Regions from separate parts of the Homo sapiens genome. Here region 2 is linked to region 1. The links are contacts of gene promoters, found by promoter capture Hi-C in human tissues and cell types (Jung and others, 2019). All regions are on one chromosome and are shown on one strand. The core of a region is centred on a gene start or on the middle of the fragment in contact, and the rest is flanking DNA. Distances in the headings are between cores, read along the strand shown.

What was found. Contacts are between HindIII fragments. The study calls those that stand out against the background at their distance.
Region 2: a contact is called between the fragment with the promoter of NOL7 here and a fragment that was not itself captured in region 1, in 12 of the 25 tissues and cell types used here (H1 embryonic stem cells, adrenal gland, dorsolateral prefrontal cortex and 9 more).

What each region holds. Positions count from the first base shown.
Region 1 is chr6:13,330,036-13,334,892 of GRCh38, reverse strand. No RefSeq gene overlaps it. Among named protein-coding and RNA genes, the nearest start is that of TBC1D7-LOC100130357, 3.9 kb to the right of the region's middle. The HindIII fragment of the contact is 4,242 bases long and covers 528-4,769 here.
Region 2 is chr6:13,612,950-13,617,806 of GRCh38, reverse strand. NOL7 (nucleolar protein 7) reads right to left here and starts at 2,472. Exons shown (of 8, transcript NM_016167.5): 1 at 2,183-2,472; 2 at 2,035-2,095; 3 at 1,286-1,344; 4 at 6-37. The coding sequence starts at 2,448. It overlaps SIRT5 (sirtuin 5), which reads right to left. Exons shown (of 10, transcript NM_012241.5): 10 at 2,649-4,857. It overlaps LOC124901263 (a long non-coding RNA gene), which reads left to right and starts at 2,605. Exons shown (of 2, transcript XR_007059461.1): 1 at 2,605-4,857. RefSeq lists an enhancer at 3,090-3,259. The HindIII fragment of the contact is 29,829 bases long and covers 1-4,857 here.

The DNA.
Region 1 (4,857 bases), core at 1,399-3,898:
CTTACCTGGGTTGCGCTTATCAAATGCATTGTTACTTGGGCATATTTCTTCTTAAAATTTTTTCTACTATCATATGACCCAGCAATCCACTACTGGGTATATATCCACAGAAATGGAAACCAGTATGCTGAAGAGCTGTCTGCACTCCTATCTCCATTGCAGCATTAATTACAATAGCCAATGCATGAAACAACTCAAGTGTACAGCAAGAGATTAATGGATAAACATCTACTGTCAGTTGGTGGAGGCACAATCCCAACCACTGTTTAGGAATGAAGTTTTCCTAAGCTCACAGTGTGAGAAATATCCCAATCATGGGTATATTCATGGGTAAAGAAAATGTGGTACATATATGTACAGCCTTTAAAAAGAAGGAAATCCTGCCATTTGCAGTAACATGGATAAACCTGGAGGACTTATTATGTTGAGTGAAATAAGCCAGGCCCAGAAAGAGAAATATTGCATGATCTCATTTATATGTGGAATCTCAAAACATTGAACTAATAGAAGCAGTGAGCAGAATGGAGGTTATTAGGGGCTGGGGTGGGTAGGTGTTAGAGAGATGTTGGTCAAAGGGTAAAAAATTTTAGACAGCAGGAATAAGTTTAAGAGTTCTATTGTCCATAATGGTGACTAAAGTTAATAACAATGTATTGTGTTCCTGAATTTAATGTAATACTTTTAAAAACTTAAATGAAATAGAAACATTTCTTCAGAGACCTAAACTACCAAATCTTTTTTTTTTTTTTTTTTTTTTTGAGATGGAGTTTTGCTCTCGTCGCCCAGGCTGGAGGGCAATGGTGCCATCTCAGCTCACTGCAACCTCCGTCTCCCGGGTTCAAGCAATTCTCCCACCTCAGCCTCCTGAGTAGCTGGGATTACAGGCAACTGCCACCATGCCTGGCTAACTTTTTAAATTTTTAGTATAGACGGGGTTTCACCATGTTGGCCAGGCTGGTCTCGAACTCCTGATCTCAAGTGATCCAACAACCTCGGCCTCCCAAAATGCTAGGATTACAAGCGTGAGCCACCGCGCCCAGCCCTAAACTACCAAATCTTAATAAAGAAGAAACAGATCTCCTGAATAGCCTCTATCTATTGAAGAAATTGCATGTAAAGTTTAAAACCTTCTCACAAAGAAAACTCTAGACCCAGATAGTTTCATTGGTGTATTCTACCAAACATTCAAGGAAGAGACAATACCAATCTATACATACCGTTCCACAATACAGAAGAGAAGGGAATACGGAAACTGTTCACTTTCTACCAGTTCCATCGCCCTCCTTCTCCTCTTGCCTCCACCTCCATGATTGGGAGTTCCTGTGCATGTGTACAGGTACCCCAGACCGCAGGCCCATGCTTCAGGCACAGCCCCTGCAAACAACCACCACACCCCCAGGGCCAAGGGGTGAGCCCACCAGTGGCTTTGAAAATGGGAAGCTTACCTGGTGCTGTTCCATTCTTCCAAAGCTCAACACCCCACAAGAATCCACCTGCTCTCGGTTACACTAAAACACCTGCAAGTACTTGTTTTTTATATTTCGTCCAGATTTGATCATTGTTATCTTTAGAAGAGTGACCTGTTTTTTGCATCACAGAATCTAACTTGGTTGTGAGATGCCCTTGTCACCAGCCTGGTTGTTCTATTCCCAAGATGGCACACAACAGAAATACATATTGCTTCTCAAGGTAAACCCCTCACCTTTGAGAAGTGTGTGTTTTGCTGGCTATTTCTGAGATCTGTAGCTTTGGACCTCTCTCTCGTTCTCTGCCTTTTCCTACACGTGCCCTGCTTGGTTTCCACTGCTTTTGGAAACTTCTCCACCTACTTGACATATTATTTTCTAGTTTCACTGAAAATAGAGTTTGCTTTTCTACCCCGCTGACTGTACCTACTGTTTTGACACTAGAACTATCAAAGATTCATGCAAAAGAGAAGACAGGGCCGAGGTCAGACAAGTATCAGTGGTTAACGGAATCATTATTTGTTAAATGACCCCATACGCACTAGGAAACCTATGGCTGTAGCCAGAGGTTTCTATATACCAGGACAGTATTGGAAGTCTATAATCACATGTACGTAAGACATATGCCACCCGTTTTGACAGGTGAACCAATGTCTCCTCTCTGTAACAGCATATTTCTGGGGTACAGTTATGCATGCTCAGGAAGGGCCATGAAAACACACCACTGTGTTAAGTGATACAGGTATAAGCTTGGGTTTACTAGAGGAAAAACATACAAGCAGAAAGTAGTAGAGTGCATGCCATCCCTGGAATCGAATTATCCCTCAGCTTAGACCAGGCATAGAGGTTTACATGCGCTGTGACCAACATTCCAATAAAGACTGATCTCCATGCCCTTAATATTGTAAATATTTACAGTGATGAGGTGGTTCTGCCTATCTGACTGAGTTAACACAGACCTGCTGAGCCAGTTTTCTGCCAAATTACCACAATGAAGAAGAAATGAGTGTCCAGGACCATCCAGGTTTGTCTCTCTTCAGATGTTTTGGAGATGTGGTTTGACCCATGAACTATCTGAATGTATATGTTCACCAATTATGCTGTGATGGGATTTTTACTACATTCACTTTAATGGCTTCTCAACATGAAGACAGTTGTCCTACAGCCATAACCTCACTCCATCTCCATTTCCTTATCTCTAGAAAACGAGGCGCAAGGATTGAGGCCAGTGGTATGTGACAATTACTATTCTGCCAAAGTAAATTTAGAAGCTGAAAGATAGGATGCCACTTCTGAAGATATGCGGCTGTTTTTATGCCCTGAAGCTTAGCTCTCCGCACCACACTTCATGGGACTCGCTGACCTTTAAGTCCCTTTCAACCTTGAGATTTGATTCTGTAACTAGCAGTACGGTGCATTTTTTAAAAAATAATTTAGCAAAAAAGGCTAACCACTAGAGGGCAGAAATATTACAAGAAAGGAGTGATGCCTGTTACAGTGAAGTACACCTGTGAGTTTTACAAGTCTTATTTCAATTAAATTCCACAAAATTTTATTGCCTGACAACTCCATTCTATAATCTGTGTTATGCTAAGAGTCCAGTGACTAATAATGCTGACAGTTCACAACTCAAATATGCAACTGTAAGAACGAATGGCCACCTGTTCACATTGTGTGATAGCCCTTTTCATTTGTTTAGAAGTCTATATTAAGCACTTACTGTGTGCCAGGCGCTGTTCTATGGACTCAGGATACATCAGCTACCGAAGCAAAGATCCCTAACCTTGTGAAACTGACGTTCTGGTGGGAGGACAGATCCAATAAAAACTAAAATAAATAAGTCAGTAATGTAGTGTGTTAAAAAGTGATCGGTGCTGGCCGGGCGCTGTGGCTCAGGCCTGTAATCCCAGCACTTTGGGAGGCCGAGGCGGGTGGATCACTTGAGGTCAGGAGTTTGAGACCAGCCTGGCCGACATGGTGAAACCCCATCTCTATTAAAAATACAAAAAATTAGCTGGGCGCAGTGGCGGGGGCCTGTAATCCCAGCTACTACAGAGGCTGAGGCAGGAGAATCGCTTGAACCCGGGAGGTGAAGGTTACAGTGAGCCAAGGTCGCACCATTGCACTCCAGCCTGGGCAACAAGAGCAAAACTGTCTCAAAAAAAAAAAAAAAAAAAAAATGGGATCATTGCTGTGAAAGAAGGAAAAGGTAGAACTGCATACAGGGGATTGGGATTCAGGTAAAGTGTTGCAATTTTAGGTAGGGTGGGGAAAGTAGCCTCAGGGAGGGGACATTTGATTGAGACTGAGGTAAGTGAGTGGGCCATGTGGCTAGCAGAGGATAATGTGTTTCAGGCAGAGGGAACATGAGAAGGTCCCAAGGCAGGGGAGTCACTCATAGTAGCTGAGACTGAGGTACAAGGAGGTAGACCATGAGAAGTGTTGTAAGCTGTTGTGAGCACTTCAGTTTTTCCTTTGAGAGAAATGGGGAGCCACTGAAGGATTTTTTGCAGAGGGATATTTTTAGATTCATTCTGGCTGCAGAGTTGACAAAAGTCTCAAAGTGTTATCTCTTAGGGAAGCTTCCACATATTCTGTTATCAGCTCATCAAAAAACAGAATGGAGGGCAGTTGAAGGCACCCATATTGCTGTCACCATTCAGTGAACAGCAGTCTTGAAAATTGATTGTATGAATTGGAGTAATCTTCATACCCAGCTAAATTAGAGTCCAGAGATGAGGGAGAAGAGAAAGCAGTTGGGGCACAAAGTGCCTGCCCAGGAATTATATTGAAAGCCAGCTGCCAAGGTGACCTGCTATAACCTGAAGACCAGTTTCACCCAGTAGCTGCTGAAACGAATTGCTGTAACTCTAAGACTAGTTTTACTTACCACCTTCTCTCACAAATTAGAGCTTGCCTGTTCCTAAAAACTTTGCTTAGGGTCAATGAGCTATCTTTCAAGGTAATACATAACATTTCTCTAATGAAACCTCCAACCATCTCTTTGTTGTTCTGAAGACCACCCCAGTCTGTGTGTATGCCCTGAACTGCAATTCTGTTTTCCCAAATAAAATGATTTAGAGACTCATCTTTGCATTTTTAATTGATCTTGACACAGCCAATTCACATATATCCCTACTGTGCCACATGCCAGGCACCATGCCAAGCACTTTACATACTTTCTCATTTAACCCTTCCCACCTTCTATATAATCACCATTGGTGATGATTTTATTTTATTATTAATATTTTTTGAAATGGAATTTCTCTCGTTGCCCAGGCTGGAGTGCGGCGGCACCATCTCAGCTCACTGCAACCTCTGCCTTCCGGGTTCAAGCGATTCTCCTGCCTCAGCCTCCAGAGTAGCTGGGATTACAGGTGTGTGCCATCAC
Region 2 (4,857 bases), core at 1,223-3,722, 280 kb before region 1:
CATACCTTCTTTCACCTTTCCTGGCGATTTCTTGATGCTAAGGAAAAAAAACAAAACCACTGACTGCAATGGCAGTAAAGATTACTCAAAACATGTTATATTATTTCATTTGCCTTTACAAGTAAGACACCCCCTTTCATTACCAACACCCTCAATTTCTACTCAGGAGCTCTCATCAGTTTGGAAAGCAATAGTCACTCCCTAGTACACTGCCACCAACTCTCAAGCATTGGAAGATCTTCACAGTTAAAATCTGAGAGCCTATTAGCAGGCTTTCAAAGCAGCAAAATGCTGTGGGCAATGGAGTTCAAGTGAAACACTTGTTCAGAACAAGTTATAAAGTATTTGAAATATGAAGTGAATGGGAGTAGGTCTGCCTCATTTCATTTGGAGAAATCACAAAGGATTAATTTAATAGTTTAGGCACAGGAGACAGGGAACAGCCTCAAGGGGGCTGTGGCCCAATGGAGAGAGAAATGTAAATGGACAGAATACAATACAGAAGCATTTGCACAGGAGAAAGGCCACACAAAAGCGGAAGTGATGGGAGGTGGGGGGGGGCAAATGAGAAGGTAAAGGTGACACTTGAGCTTGGTTTTAAAAGATGAAAGGGAATTTGCCACCAAATAGATTTGCTCTTACGTTTAATGTATTCAGGATCTGAGTAACTCTTTGGTAAAGTTTTTTTACTGAAAACTTGAGAGTCACTGGCCTAAGCAAAAGGGGGCTGAATTTCTGAATTTAAAGCCTTAAGGGGAGAAAAAGAGGATAGAAAAAAAAAAATTTAGAAGGCTAAATTTAGTAGGGTTTGATCAATTCCCAAAGACGACTATAGCTTTTCGCTTTAAACCATAAAACACCAAAGATGCTAAATGAAGTGGGGAACAGGAAGGACAGGTTGGTGGCAGGTAAGGCAAGTATGGGACAAATCAAGTTTTCAGAGCCTGTGGATAAGTGCCTGCTACCCCACTAAATGATTCAAAACACTTTTTATTCACCACCACCCACTATGCCCTAGTACAATGACAGGCAGTCAACAAAATGTACTGAATGAACACAATGGGATCAGGAATTCAAAAGCTAGCTATGGGAATGAACAAAAATAAATGGTAAAATAAGAAGTAGAACGTTACCTCCGTCTTTCCCATCAAATTCATATACCAAGGTAGCTTTTGAATTTGGGTTCTACAATTCCTTCAGTTATATGGATTCAAATAAATGTACCAGTATATAATTCAAAGATGGGTGTATATAAGCAAGTAATATAAAAAGATCCATTACTTACTTAGTCTGTGAAGCTGTGGTTAACTTCTCCAAAATAGTGTCTGGAAGGAGTTTTCTTTTCTTTTGGAATGAAAACGTTTAAAATTAATAGAAAGTCATGTACATAGTATGTCCGGAGTTGCTTCTGAAGTTACCGCTTTTAAGAATGCCCTACATCTAGGCAAAGAAATGAATTAGGCTGGAAACTGCCCCCATACCTCTAAGCTATGGGAAGACCGGGTCCACAAAACTCCACATTCTCTGAAAGACTTGATGAAAACTAGAAAGGGTGCCCACGGTATTCTAACCCTCAGGTCACTGTTATAAATTGAAAGCAGTTAAGTAATGTCTGCCTGGAGCCAGCTCTCTGTGTCGAGTATCAGACAGCAAAGCAACCATACACTAAGTCTGTACAGCCCTTACAGTTTACAAATCACCTCATTTAATTCTCACAGCAACCTCTTATTTTCAGTTGGTGGACACTAAAGGAGACGAACTTTTTTTTTTTGAGACAGGGTCTCGCTCTGTCGCCCAGGCTGGAGCGCAGTGGTGTGATCTCGGCTCCAGGCAGCCTCGACATCCCGGGCTCCGCCCACCTCGTCCAACTAAAGTACTGCCGCGCCCGGCCCGAGCATCTTTCCACCACTGTCAGAGGCAATCTTGGTGACTGTTTCCCCACTCCAATATCCTGCCAACCCAAATTACATCCACCATAGGAATTCTCCCTGAGCCGAGTTGTTTTAATAAGACACCTCCTCCCTAGCCTCTAACCTTCTGTTCGATGAACAGCTCCTCGCGTCGCTTCCTCTTCTCCTTCAGGAGCGTTTTATCCCTGGGAGGAAGGGTGATAAGTCAGCAAAGGGAAGGACAAGCGGGACGAGAAAGGGCGGTTCTCCCCGCCGGGCAGCGGGCTCCGAACCTGCGCACGGTCTCCCGCACTCGCCGCTCCTCTTCTCTCGCTTCCGCCTGGGCGCTGGCGAAAGTCAGCTCCTCCGGGGCCTCATCGTCAAACTCATCGTCCCCTTCCTCGTCTTCCTCCAGGGGCTCGGCGGCCGCGCCGCTGCTGGGCTGCCCGAGCAACAGCCCGTGCTCCGCCTCCTCCTCCTCCGAGGCCAGCTGGCCCTCGTCCACCATCGCCTCCGCCGACGCCGGGGCGCGAGACGCTCGCGGTCGGAGCTGCACCATGGCCCACGCAGCGCTAGACCGTCTGACCTCTGACCCGGAAGCAGCTACAAGCGGAGCGCAAGCCTACTTTCATCGCCCCCTGCAGGTTCGGAGGTCCTCAGGACGGGTGGGGCGCATGCGCGAAGGGAGGAAGGGCGTGGCCTGTAGGCAGTGGGCGTGTTTCTTTCCACGTGGCCAGCGCAGGCCGCCTTGGAGCCGGATGGACCCCACGGAAAATGCTCTGCCGGCGAAAGCGGCTGGCAATGGGGTTGATTTCAAGGCAGGGAAGAGCCATCGCGCTGCCCTCCTCGGCTGGGATGGCGAGACAGGGCTGGCACGGCTCACGCTGTCCGGTGCTCAGAAAACCGGTAATCGCGGGCCCGAGGCGCTGCTCGCCGCCGTTTTTTGGCCCTGGGTTCCGTCGAGTGGATCCAGCTTGTCAGTCTTTGTGTAGATTTGGCTGCGTTCGCTCCGCACTTCGGAGGAGGTGGCGTTTCATGGGAAGAAATGCGCTCTAGCAGATGGCCGCCGTGGCCAGTCAGCCCTGCTGCCACCGACGAAGACGCGGGCGACAGACCTGGACTCTAAAGAAATCTGCACAGACGTGCCCGGCGCCCTCGGCCTTCCCAGCTCCGCGGCCGCAGCGACGCCGGTTAGGATGTCGGCCCTGTGGGAGGGGCGCCCTTCCTGGTGCCGGGCCCTAACCCACGACCTGGAACAGCAGCTGGCCCGTGGCAAATGCTGAGCATATCTCCTGAAAGAATGGCTTCGCCGGTCCCTAGAGAATGCACCCGAGTTTTGTGGTATATACACATACGTACTTTTTTTCCAAGTATATTTTATTTCTTGGCAAACATGGCCCTTTGTGATCGCTGTGTTTCTCTCCTCCCATCCATTATACAACACTAAGTGATTCATCATTCTTTGAACAAATCAAACTGTTTCACACCTGCCATGCATTTGTACCGACCGTGCTCTTCCCTCTACTGCCGCAGCCCCCCAGGTAGAAGTCCTTTTTATACTTCAAAAATTCCCACCCAGGCAAATTTCAAGCACCTTACCCCTACCCCATCCCACTCTGCCCATCTCTAATTGCGCTGGTCTGAACCCGCACAAATGTCTGTGTAGTTTCTGCACTTCATAACAGCTTATATGACAGTTGCTCCAGCCATTCTGTGAACCCCTGAGGGGAAGGGCCAGGTCTTGCTAGTCATTTTATTTCTAATGTCTATCATCTGGTAGATGTTTAATAAATGCTAAGTTGAATAATTCTATCTTACACATATATTGTATTTTTAATTCTCTTTTCATGTCTTCTGTTTTAGAAGCAATTCTCAATTTAAAAACGACAAAACCAAATAGGAACAAAAATGATAAAACTTGAAAACAACAACAACAAAAAAAGCTGCTGAACCAGAGGTTCAGTATGAGAGGAATTGCAAAGAACAGTTTTGAAATCTCTAGGCCTTAGTCAGATAGAAATTACAAATCAAAAATATAATCAGACTCCCTGAGACACTAACACTAGGAAAATGAATAAAGTTAACTTGGAGCAGCCCAAGAACAAACTTATAAGTGCATGATGGTATTTTATGTGCAAAACTGCTTTATAAGTACTATAAGACTATTACAGGTATTACCAGTGCCCTCAGTGTAAACTCCTTGGCCCACCCATGTAAAGTGTACATCGAGCCCTCAGGGTCCCTGACTGGTTCTCCAGCCGCCCCATAGGCTATGAGCATCCCCGTTCCCTACACAAAGGACCACTGGGATTTATTAAAGGTTATGCCTTGCAATGCAGTACAAAGTTTTATATGATAGTGTCTTGTTGCCTGTTTCTACAAAAGCCAAGGGTGTAACATTAAATGCAATTTTGCAAGGGGCTGAGGTGATGTGGTCCAAGTATGTAATCACTTCAGGGAGCCATATGTGACCTTCATACACTGTTGATAATGGCCATGCCTCCCAGTCAGGCCTGTGACACCTGCTGGACAGCAGGCATTCCAAGGCCCCTAAGCACTGAGTTAGCTGGTAAAGGTTAAGGAAAAAGCTGTATTCTTACTACTTTACTCCAAGGTAGTAAAGTGTATGGAAGATGTACCTGACAGAAATAACTTAAGCATCCCCTGAGAATGACCCTGTATGGCAGATGCATCTGACAGCAATAACTTAAGAAGTGAGGGTTGCCACGTGGAGGCTGCTGAGGGGAGGGTGCTGAGTGAAAGTGCTATGTAAACTGCATGCTTTTTATAAGTGGTTGCAGTTCTGTCCAGCCCGCGGCCACTGGACCACCCTGTAAGGTTCCCCAAATAAACCCTATGTTTCCTTCACTAGCTCCAGGTCTCTTCTTTGGCCTCTTGAACCTGGTGCCATCCCTACTGAAGTTAACAGAGGTCTGGCCCAACCTAAGGGCATCATTTTTTAAAGTCC